Linked DNA regions of Homo sapiens: region 1 is linked to region 2. The links are contacts of gene promoters, found by promoter capture Hi-C in human tissues and cell types (Jung and others, 2019). All regions are on one chromosome and are shown on one strand. The core of a region is centred on a gene start or on the middle of the fragment in contact, and the rest is flanking DNA. Distances in the headings are between cores, read along the strand shown.

Evidence for each region. Contacts are between HindIII fragments. The study calls those that stand out against the background at their distance.
Region 1: the fragment with the promoter of DNASE1L2 here is called in contact with the fragment with the promoter of NTN3 in region 2 in 1 of the 25 tissues and cell types used here (lymphoblastoid cells).

What each region holds. Positions count from the first base shown.
Region 1 is chr16:2,233,975-2,238,650 of GRCh38, reverse strand. It overlaps DNASE1L2 (deoxyribonuclease 1 like 2), which reads right to left and starts at 2,207. Exons shown (of 7, transcript NM_001374.3): 1 at 2,091-2,207; 2 at 1,691-1,873; 3 at 1,525-1,613; 4 at 1,350-1,433; 5 at 1,002-1,275; 6 at 633-884; 7 at 1-289. The coding sequence starts at 1,834. The coding sequence ends at 233. It overlaps E4F1 (E4F transcription factor 1), which reads right to left. Exons shown (of 14, transcript NM_004424.5): 9 at 4,661-4,676; 10 at 4,263-4,480; 11 at 3,870-4,068; 12 at 3,650-3,792; 13 at 3,508-3,570; 14 at 2,909-3,435. The coding sequence ends at 3,079. The HindIII fragment of the contact is 25,906 bases long and covers 1-4,676 here.
Region 2 is chr16:2,469,902-2,474,513 of GRCh38, reverse strand. NTN3 (netrin 3) reads right to left here and starts at 3,217. Exons shown (of 6, transcript NM_006181.3): 1 at 1,885-3,217; 2 at 1,625-1,813; 3 at 1,380-1,529; 4 at 1,196-1,246; 5 at 1,011-1,085; 6 at 369-758. The coding sequence starts at 2,812. The coding sequence ends at 409. RefSeq lists silencers at 176-445, 506-565, 636-785, 2,940-3,079. The HindIII fragment of the contact is 12,116 bases long and covers 1-4,612 here.

The DNA.
Region 1 (4,676 bases), core at 958-3,457, 230 kb after region 2:
GCACCCCTCATGGGGCTCACAACACCCCATGAGGTCGCTGGATGCAGCCCGTCCCACAGATGGGGAACGGAGGTACAGAGCAGCACATCACGTGTCCATGGCCCCTGGTCCACGCCCAGCCGACTCTGCCTTGGGGCCTCACTGAAGGGTGGCTGCCACCCTGAAGGGGCCACTGTTGGGCCATTCCTCAGAGCCAGGGTCTGCAGGTGGCATGCCCCAGCCAGGCCTCGAGTCATCGGTGGAACTTGAGGGTCACCTCCACTGGAAAGTGGTCGCTGATGGCAAGAGCCTGTGGGGACAGAGTGAGCCTCAGGGGAAAAGTGCACCCCACCCACAGGGATGGGAGGGGCCGGTGAGGCCTGGGTGCCCACCCCTGCTGCTGCCTGCGGTGGGGCAGGGGCAGGGGCCGGGGCAGAGGGTGTCACCACTGGCCCTTTGAGGGAAAGGCAAGGTACCCTGCCTGCCCAGAGCTCCACATGGGGTGGGCCGGGCTCTCCAGGGTCCTTGGAAACGAGCCCTGGTGCAGGGAGGAAGCTGAGGTGGCCCTGCCTTGGGCGCTGGACCCTCCCTGCTGCCTGCGTGCGCCCGGGCGGTGGGGACCCAAGACCAGCACCGCCCCACGGCCCACTCGCCTGAGTCTGGTCCAGGCCGAATTCCTCCTGGAAGTCGTGCACGGTGGCCGACTGGGGCTTCAGGCTCCGGCGCAGGCGGGCGCCACAGGCCACAATGCGGTCGTAGGCGCAGTCTGAGTTGCCCACCGTGGTGTCGGCGCTGTCAGGGATGAGCCACTTGAAGACCTCACTGCTCCTCAGACGGATGGCGGCCCAGTCCTGCGCCCGCACATAGCTGCAGTCGGCGTTGAAGTCGCCCAGGAACAGCATGTCCTGCGGGCGCCGCGGAGCCGTGTCTGAGCCGCCGCAGGAGCCGTCGAGGTCCCGCCCTCATGAACCAGACCCCCGGGGCGCGCCTGCAGGGACCCCGGGACCGAGGGGTGGGCTTACGTCGGTGCCCCACTTGTCGATCACGTCCAGGTACACGTCGTAGAGCGCGTCGATCTCCGCCACGGCTTGATGCGGCGCCGCGTGCAGCGGGATCAGCACCAGGTTCTGTGCTGCTGCGGGAAGGGGTGGGGGCGTCAGAGCTCGGCGGGAGGGGAGGGGCGGGGCCCGCTCACCGGTGCCGGGGGCCGAGAACTTGACCACGAAGGGCTCGCGGCTGAAGACGTCCTCGGGGTCTGGGTACAGGTAGGTGTCCACGACCGACACCGCGTCTTTCCTAGGAGATGGGGAGGACCCGCTGAGCCCCCGACCTGCGGCCCCGCGCGCCCCTCCCTGCGGCCCGCCCCTCACCTGTACACGAACAGGTACATCTCCTTGTACTGGTCCCGGCCCAGGGGCTGGCTGCTCACAAAGCTGTACTCGTGCTCGGACACGCTGCGGAGACAGGGGCCCGCTCAGGGTCGGGGCGCCGCGCCGGGGCGAGATCCCGGCGGGGGGTCGCGACGAGGGGCCCTGCCCACCACACCTGTTGATCTGCTCCATGAGCGCGGACACGGCGCTGAGGTCTGGGTCTCGCACCTCCTGCACCAGCGCGAGGTCATAGCCAGCCAGGATCTGGGGAGGAGCGGCGGGTGCGGGGGTCAGCGCGGTCAGCACCCCTAAACGCCGCCCCGCCCCGGCCCGGGCCCCACCTTCGCGATGATGCTGCCGCAAGCGGGGTCCGACACTTTGCTGTCACCGAAGCTCTGAATGTTGAAGGCTCCGATGCGAAGCGCGGCGGTCCCGGCGGCTTCCAGCGCCCAGAGTGCGGCCAGCAGAGCCCGGGGCCCGCCCATGGCGCGGAGCGAGAGGCTGGGAGGGACAGACGCTGCCGCCTACGCAGACCCGCTGTCAGACCCACCGACCCACCCCTTCCCTCCGCGGCCGCCCCTTGACGGCCAGTGCGACGCGGAATCCGCCCCTGCGTTCTGCAGGCTCCCAGGGCACTGCTGGGCTCTCAGGGACCGCTGCCTTCTCACTGCGCGGGAAGCTGCAGCCGGAATGGAGGGTCCGGCCCATCCAGCCCCAGCTCAGGGCAGCCGAGAGACTCACCTTGGATGTGGGTGCAGAGGCCCGAGGCTCAGAGATCCTAGGGGGATGGGGATCCCGGGTCCAGGCTGCGGGCGTGTCCGACACAGGACTGCACTGACTCCCTCTGGCAGTAGCTCTGGCACCAAGGCAGGGGCCGGTATTTGAGGTCCTGGGCCAGGGAGGGGCCGGGCTGCACTGGGTCCCGCCCCCTCGACTCAGCTGGGTGCCTGATGAACTCCTGGCTTTCATTCCCATGGAGACCCCCAGGGTAAGGGGTGGGAGACCTGCCTGAGCCGGTTCTGGTGCCCCAGACCTGTCCCAAAACCGTCCCAGAAGCCCCTGCCAGCCCCCTAGGAGGGAGGTAGACGGTCAGCCACATCCCGGTGCGGCTGTGTTCTTGTCCTCGCCCCTAGAAATTAGGTCGCCTAGACTCTGCCTCCCTGAGCAGAATCCCTTCAGGGAAAGCAAGGCAGCGCAGGTAGGACCAGCCACACTCCCTACCCAGCATCTCCTGCTGCTGCTCCACCTGCTCACCCTGCGGTGGAGGCCGAGGCTCCCAGATCTCCCTGTCCCCGTCCCTGGTCCTCCCACCCACCCACAGGCCTCAGGCAGCGCAGCTGGGGGCACAGCTCCAGCTGGGCAGGGCAGGAGGCTGTTGGTCAACATGCCAATGACACCCACACAGCACCAAGGCGCCGCCAGGGCTGGCAGAAGCCCCTGGGTGGGGCGGCCAGGCACGTGAGTCTAGGAGTGGCCTGGGAGGCAGGTGCTGCTGCGGGGGCCTGGGCAAAGGTGGTGGCACCAGCCGCGGAGGCTGCCACTGCCACAACATCACAAGCTGCAGGTTCTCATGTTTTATTGTAAAGCAACAAGAAACTCTTATGTACACTGTCCGTCTTGGGGCGCCTCCATCCTGTGCCATCTTCTCTACCAGGCCAGGCAGGCATGGGTGGGGCGCTCAGAGTCCTCTGCCCTGTCCCTGCCCGGCCAGGACCCCGCAGACCTCATGCTAGACGATGACCGTCTGCACCTCCAGCTGGCCCTCCGGCGAGGCGATGACCAGCTCGCCTGCATGCTCCAGGATCTCGATGTCCTCTGATGACACCATGGTCACAGTGGCCTGTTCAGTGCCACTTGTCCCTGCCCGGGCGGCAAGCACAGTGCCCTCGCTGATGGCCGAGGCCAGCGTCATGGCCACCTGCTCTGTCAGGCTCTCGGGGGTGGCGATGGTGATGGTGTCGGCGGCAGCCGCCTCTGGGCCCAGCGCCGTCTCCTCGTCCATGGTGACGTTCTGCACGATGATCTGGTGGCCGGCGCTAGCCTGGTGCACGATCTGCTGCACCACCTTCATGATGTGGCTGTCCACCTGCAGGGCCACGGCTCAGCAAGAGCGGCTGTGCCAGGGAGCCTCCCCGCCCCCGCCTGCCCTACCCCTCACCTCTGTCTGGGTGCCCTCGATGATCTCCGTGGCCTCACTGGTCTCCGCATCGTCCGCAGTGGCCTGGGCAGATGGGCAGAAGGACAGAGGTCAGCCTTGGCTGCCCCTGGGTCCCAGCACGGCCCCAGGGCCCCACACCCACCTCGATGATATACTCCTGGGTGTCAGCTACCACGGACGAGAACTCCACCAACACTGTGTGCGGGTCTTCCGTGAGGACGGTGGTGGCTGCCGCGGGGCTGTCCTCAGACACCAGCAACTCCTCCACCTCCAGCAGGCAGCCCCCTGTGGGTGGGGACTCGGTCAGGGCTAGGCAAGCCCCGGCCCCCTCCCCTCCCCCTCCCACCTCCACCGGCCCAGACCTTTGGTGCGCAGGTGCCGGTTCAGCGTGCCGTGCTCGGCGAAGCCACGGCCGCACTTGTAGCACTTGAACGGCTTCTCGCCTGTGTGGTGTCGCACGTGCCGCACCAGTGAGCCCTTCTCTCGGAAGCCACGGCTGCAGAACTGGCACACGTGCGGCTTCTCCTCCAGGTGTGTCCTGAAGTGCACCTGCTGTGCGTTCTGTGGAGACACCTGTCAGTGCCAGCCTGGCCTTGGCCACAACAGACTACAGCTCTCCCCTCCCGCCTGTGGCCCAAGGGAGGGGCTGGGTCAAGACTGAGCATGGTGGAGGCAGGGAAGGGGGTGCACCTGGGCCACGGCCAGGGAGCAGGATGGGGGGATCAGGCGCCAGGGTCCTGCGGCCAGAGACCCACCTTAGTCTTGTAGCGCTTGCCACACTTGGGACAAGGGTAGGGCCGCTCGTCTGAGTGGACGCGCCGGTGGCCACGCACATGGGCAATGGTCTTGTAGAGCTTCCCGCAGTCGCCACAGCGGAAGCGGCGCTCACGCACGTGCACCTCCTGGTGCTTCTTGAGCAGGTAGGCCTTGGGGAAGGCCTTGCCACACTGCGCGCAGGCGAACGGCCTCGGCCCTGCAGCCACACACAGCATCAGGCCAAGCCCATCACCCGCGGGCCCGCCAGGCCGCCTGCCACCTGCCCACAGATCCCCTGGCTCCCTGCTGTCTATGGACCCACCCTGGACACCCAGAAGCACCCCGGCCACCTATAGCCCATCCACTGCCATGGGCCACACACCCACCCATCACCTACCGGTGTGGCCCCTCTT
Region 2 (4,612 bases), core at 1,968-4,467:
TTGGGGAGGTCAGTGCGCTCCCTGGCGGGTCGCCGCACAGGTGGGGGTGCATCACAGCGGCCCCGGGGATGATCTGAGATCCCCGAGAGGGCCCGGCATCACGAAGGATTCACAGCCTTCCGGGTATCCCAGTGCCCCTGGGACAGGGCCGACAGCCAGAGGGCGGGAGACCATGGGGTCCTCCGGGTGTGCCATATCATCTGCCTCTGTGCGGGGCGGGCTGTCGCTGCGCCGGTCACATCCCCCCAGGGCCAGACGGGAGGTACCGAGGGAGCTGCCGGCGGGGACGGGGCGGCGGCCCAGGTGGCGACACGCGCGACGCGAGCAAGGACTCCTTGGCAGGCGAAGGCACAGGGTGAACGTGCGCCTAGATGTGGGAGCAGCGGCCGCCCTGCCCAGCCGGCGGGCTCAGGCGGCGCTGCAGCGCCCCCGCCGTTCGCGTCGCTGCAGCCTCCGCAGGCGCCGCGTCCACGCGTCCCTCCAGGGTAGCACGAGGCTTCCGCGGGCGGCGATGAGCCCGGGCCCCCGGCCCCCCGCGCCCCCAGCCGCGGCTCCAGGCCCGCCCCCCAGCAGGAGGTAGCGGCGGCCGGGGAGCAGGCGCGGGCAGCCGCAGGCCGCATCCCCGGCGGGCACCCACAGCGCGCTACTCCCGCGCCGCGCGCGCTCCTCTCCGCTCCGGAACACGGCGAGCACCGCCACCGGGAAGCGTGTCCACGCGCCGCGCGCCTCGCCGCGCGCACCCACCGCCACCTGCACCGCTGCGGGGAGAGCGAGAGGGGGCGGGGTCAGGAAGGGGCGGCCTGCCCGCGGTAGGGGGAGGCACGGGGAGGACACCAGGAGGGCAGTGGGGGCTGAAGGGGCGGGGTCGCTGCCCGTGGAGGACCTGAGGGATGAGGATGGGCCTTGGGGCCCAGCAAGGGTCAAGGCGTTCCAAGGGGAAGCTGGCGGAGGAGGGAAGGTAGGGAGAGGAGGAAGGTGGGAAGGTCCGCGGGAGGCCTGAGGGCACCTACCATAGTCCTTCTTGCAGAACTTCTTTAGGCTGATGCGGTAGCTGCCACGGGCAGGTTTGCAGTGCGAGTCACAGTCTGGGTAGAAGGTGGGAGGCTGGCACAGACTCCCTTTCCCCACCCTCTCCTCCCAGAGCCCCCTCCCCCAAAGTCATGCCAGTCTGGGGCCCTGTCCTGTGTCCACTCACCCTGGGGCTGCACAGGGCTGCTGTCCTCAGTGGGTCCAGGGATAGGGGTCTCTGCAGAGAGGGAGGGAGAATGGCCTGCGATGGAGGGGCAGAGAGATCTGCAGGGCTCGGGGAATAGACGGGACAACAGCAGGGAGCTGGGGTGGCCTTGGCTTGGTGGCTGAGGCGGGGCAGGGTCACTCACTAACACAGGGCGCCACTGGGGAGCGGCTTTGCTGGAAGCCAGGCGCGCAGCGGTTGCAGGTGAGGCCAGTGACGCCATCCTTGCAGGGACACTGGCCTGTGGTCTGGTTGCAGGTCTTGCCAGCAGCACCAACCGGGTGACAGTCGCAGGCTGAGGACAGAGGTGGGAAGGGCCTGGTCAGAAGCCTGTCTGGGGATCTGGGAAGTCAGAGGGTGAGGGCCTGCAGGTGGCCGGTGGTGGCTCACCCCTGCAAGCCCGACGGTCACTCAGGGCACGGCCAGGGTCTCGATAGAAGCCCTCCCGGCAGTAGTGGCAGTGGCGGCCGGCGGTGTTGTGCCGGCAGTTGAGACAGACACCCCCGCTGCGGCGGCCGGACAGTCGGTACAGCTCCATGTTGAAGCGGCAGCGGCGGGCATGGCCGTTGCAGGAGCAAGCTGCAGGGAGGGATGGGTCAGGGGCAGGCTGGTTGTGTCCAAGGTCCCCAGGCCACCCTCCAAGGCCTCACCGAGGCAGGCGTGGGATTCCCGGGCAGTGGCCCGCTGCCATGGCCTGTCGCAGTAGAAGGGCTTGCAGCGGCCGCAGTCAGGGCCCTCGGTGCCATGCCGACAGTCGCAGATCAGGTGGCCCTGTGTGTCCAGCAGGCACCGTGAGGCATGTCCATTGCACTTGCAGCGCCCGCCCACCTGGAGGTCGGTGGCTGCGTAGGAGTAAGGGACGACGGCCTCCATGTCCCTGGGGTCACCTGCCGTGCTAGGCCTTGTGAGCACTACACGGACGTCGGTGGCGGTCACCCAGTCTTGGAGCACTGGGCTGCTGTCCAGGTCCAGGCCTGGGGGGCTGCTGTCCTGCATGCTGAAGGCCAGAAGGCCGCTGCCATCAGGCTGGGCCAGGGGTGCGGGGAAGCACAGGGCCTCAGGCCCTGGGCCAGCTGGGCCATTGGCAGGGGCAGGCAGACGGCCATAGTCCAGGTCACAGTGGGAGGAGAAGAAGCCCAGCGGGGCCCAGCTGCGGCCATGGTCCTGAGACTTGAGCAGGGCCACGGAGGCTGGGGGAGCTGAGCAGAAGCGCAGGCTCACGAAGACCAGCTCAAAAGCCTTGCCCAGGGGCACCGTGAGAGTCACGTTGAGGGGCGCCCGAGGCAGGGACTCCGAGCGCCAGCACAGAGGGCTGGCCGTGCCCCCTGGGGAAGTAAGGAGGGCGGGGGAGTGTGCCCGTCGCGGGTCGGAGGCGTCGCAGGCCCGAGTGGCCGGCCGCCCGCACGTGCTGGAAGCCAGCACCTCGCGGCCCAGGGCGGCGTTCACCAGTCCTGGCACGCAGCCGCGGGGCGCACCCCCCTCATCGTGGCAGGGGTCGGCGGGCGCCGGCGGCCCAGGACTCAGGGCGGCGAAGAGCGTGCCTGCCGTCAGCAGCAGCCCCCAGGGCCAGCCAGGCATGGCCGGAGCCGCTGCGGGTCAGCCAGTGGCCGGGCCCCAAGACGCTGCCCTTGGGGAAAAGAAGCCCTCTCCGCGGCTCTGCCCACCAGGCCCGCAATGCCGAGGAACAGGGCCCCCGGGCGGCCCCAGCCCGGCCCAGAGGTGGGAGCAGCGGCGGGCACGCCCCGGGCCCAGCACAGCAGCGGGGATGTTGGCGCGTCCTCCCGCTGGGCCTAGAGCGATGACAGGCGTCGCCCCCGCTCCCGGTGCCTCCGCCCGCGGAGGCCCCACCCGCCGCTCGCACTCACCCACCGAGGGCCGGGCGGAGCAGGTCTCCCGGCCTCCCGGGAAGGGCCGTGGGCGGGCGGGGCCTGCGGTGCACGGGCCGCCGCCTCCTCCCGGCTGCAGCGAGGGCGGACGAGCTGTGCCAGGAGGGGGTGGGGGGCGCAGCAGGCGCAAGCCCGGGCCCAGCCGGGGGCGGGGCTGCTCGGGTCGGGAAGGAGGCAGGGGAGGGGAGGGGGCCTCATCGCAGAGCTGGAATCAGAAGCAGATTCAGACGCGGGCTGGGCCAGCGGGGAAGGGGGCTGGGAGGCCCGGGAGCCAGGGGAGGGGCCGGGGAGCCAGGAATGCGCTGGCGGGAGGGGTCTGGAGGGGGGCAGCTCAGCCTTCGCAGCCCGTGGGGGACCACCCAGCAGGGTCCTGGGCCCACAGCCAGGTCTTTACTGCTCCTGGGGCTGTGCCACGTGCTGGACGGGGGTCTGGGTCGCCTCCTCCCTGAAGACCATCAGGCAGGCAAGGCCCCGGGTCTGACAGCAGAGGCCCTGGATGTTCCCCAGGTAGGGAAGCCAAGTAACCACCAGTTGAAGGGTCATCCCCAAAGCAGCATCTACTCGAGTAGAAGGAACCCAGGATTCGGTCAGGTCTAATTTTGAATCCAACTGCCCCATTTCTGGCTGCATGTCTTGGGCTCCTGTTTCCTCACCTGCCAGATGCCTGTTACTCAGCACGCGCTCTGAAGCTGTTGGATTTGATGAGTCTCAAGTGGCATCAGGCCCAAGTCGAGAGCTGCACAAATTGGAGTGTCTCCTGCCCATGTTGAGGAAGGGGGGCACCCCCATGGGCCTGAGCTGGGCTAAGACATGAGGCCAGCATCCCCTGCACCAGGCCAGATTCTGATCCCAAAGCTCCCTGGGTCTGCAAGTTTCTAGGGGCACCTCTGCCACGGGCCCAGCTGGCAGGGAGGACATGGAAGCTGGAGGGTGGGATGGGGTGGCTTCTTGGGGTTCGGGGGCTTGGTTAGCTGTTGAGGACCCCTCTGCAGGGGCAGGGAGTAGGGTTTAATCATGGGAAGGGGCTGGTCGCAACCCGGAGCCCACTGCCCTACGTCACAGCACGTTTGGGCAGGGAAACTGAGGCAGAAGCCCAGCTGGGTGGCCTGGGGACTAGCTGGGGATGGGGTAGCTGTGCCTGGGAGCGACACCACCAAAGAGGGTCCAGGAACAGCTCTGGTCAGAGAAACCTCCTCCCCTCCGACTTTCAGGTCCTTGACAGAGGAGGCCAAGCATCCCAGGGAGGGGCAGGGAACAAGTTCCGTGCAGGGCCAGCATCGAGGCCTGAATGCCCCGTTTCAGATGGGAGGCCAGGCCTGCAGCTGGTGGAGGAGGCCACGTGGGTGCTACCCTGGACACGACCAGAGATGAGCAAGGACCAGGAGGAAGAGAATGGAGAGGTAGACGCATCCCGCTGTTGGGGAGAGGAGGGGCAGGAGGACACGGAAGCCTCCTAGGGGAAACTGAAGGACCAGAGGAGGGAGCAGGAGGG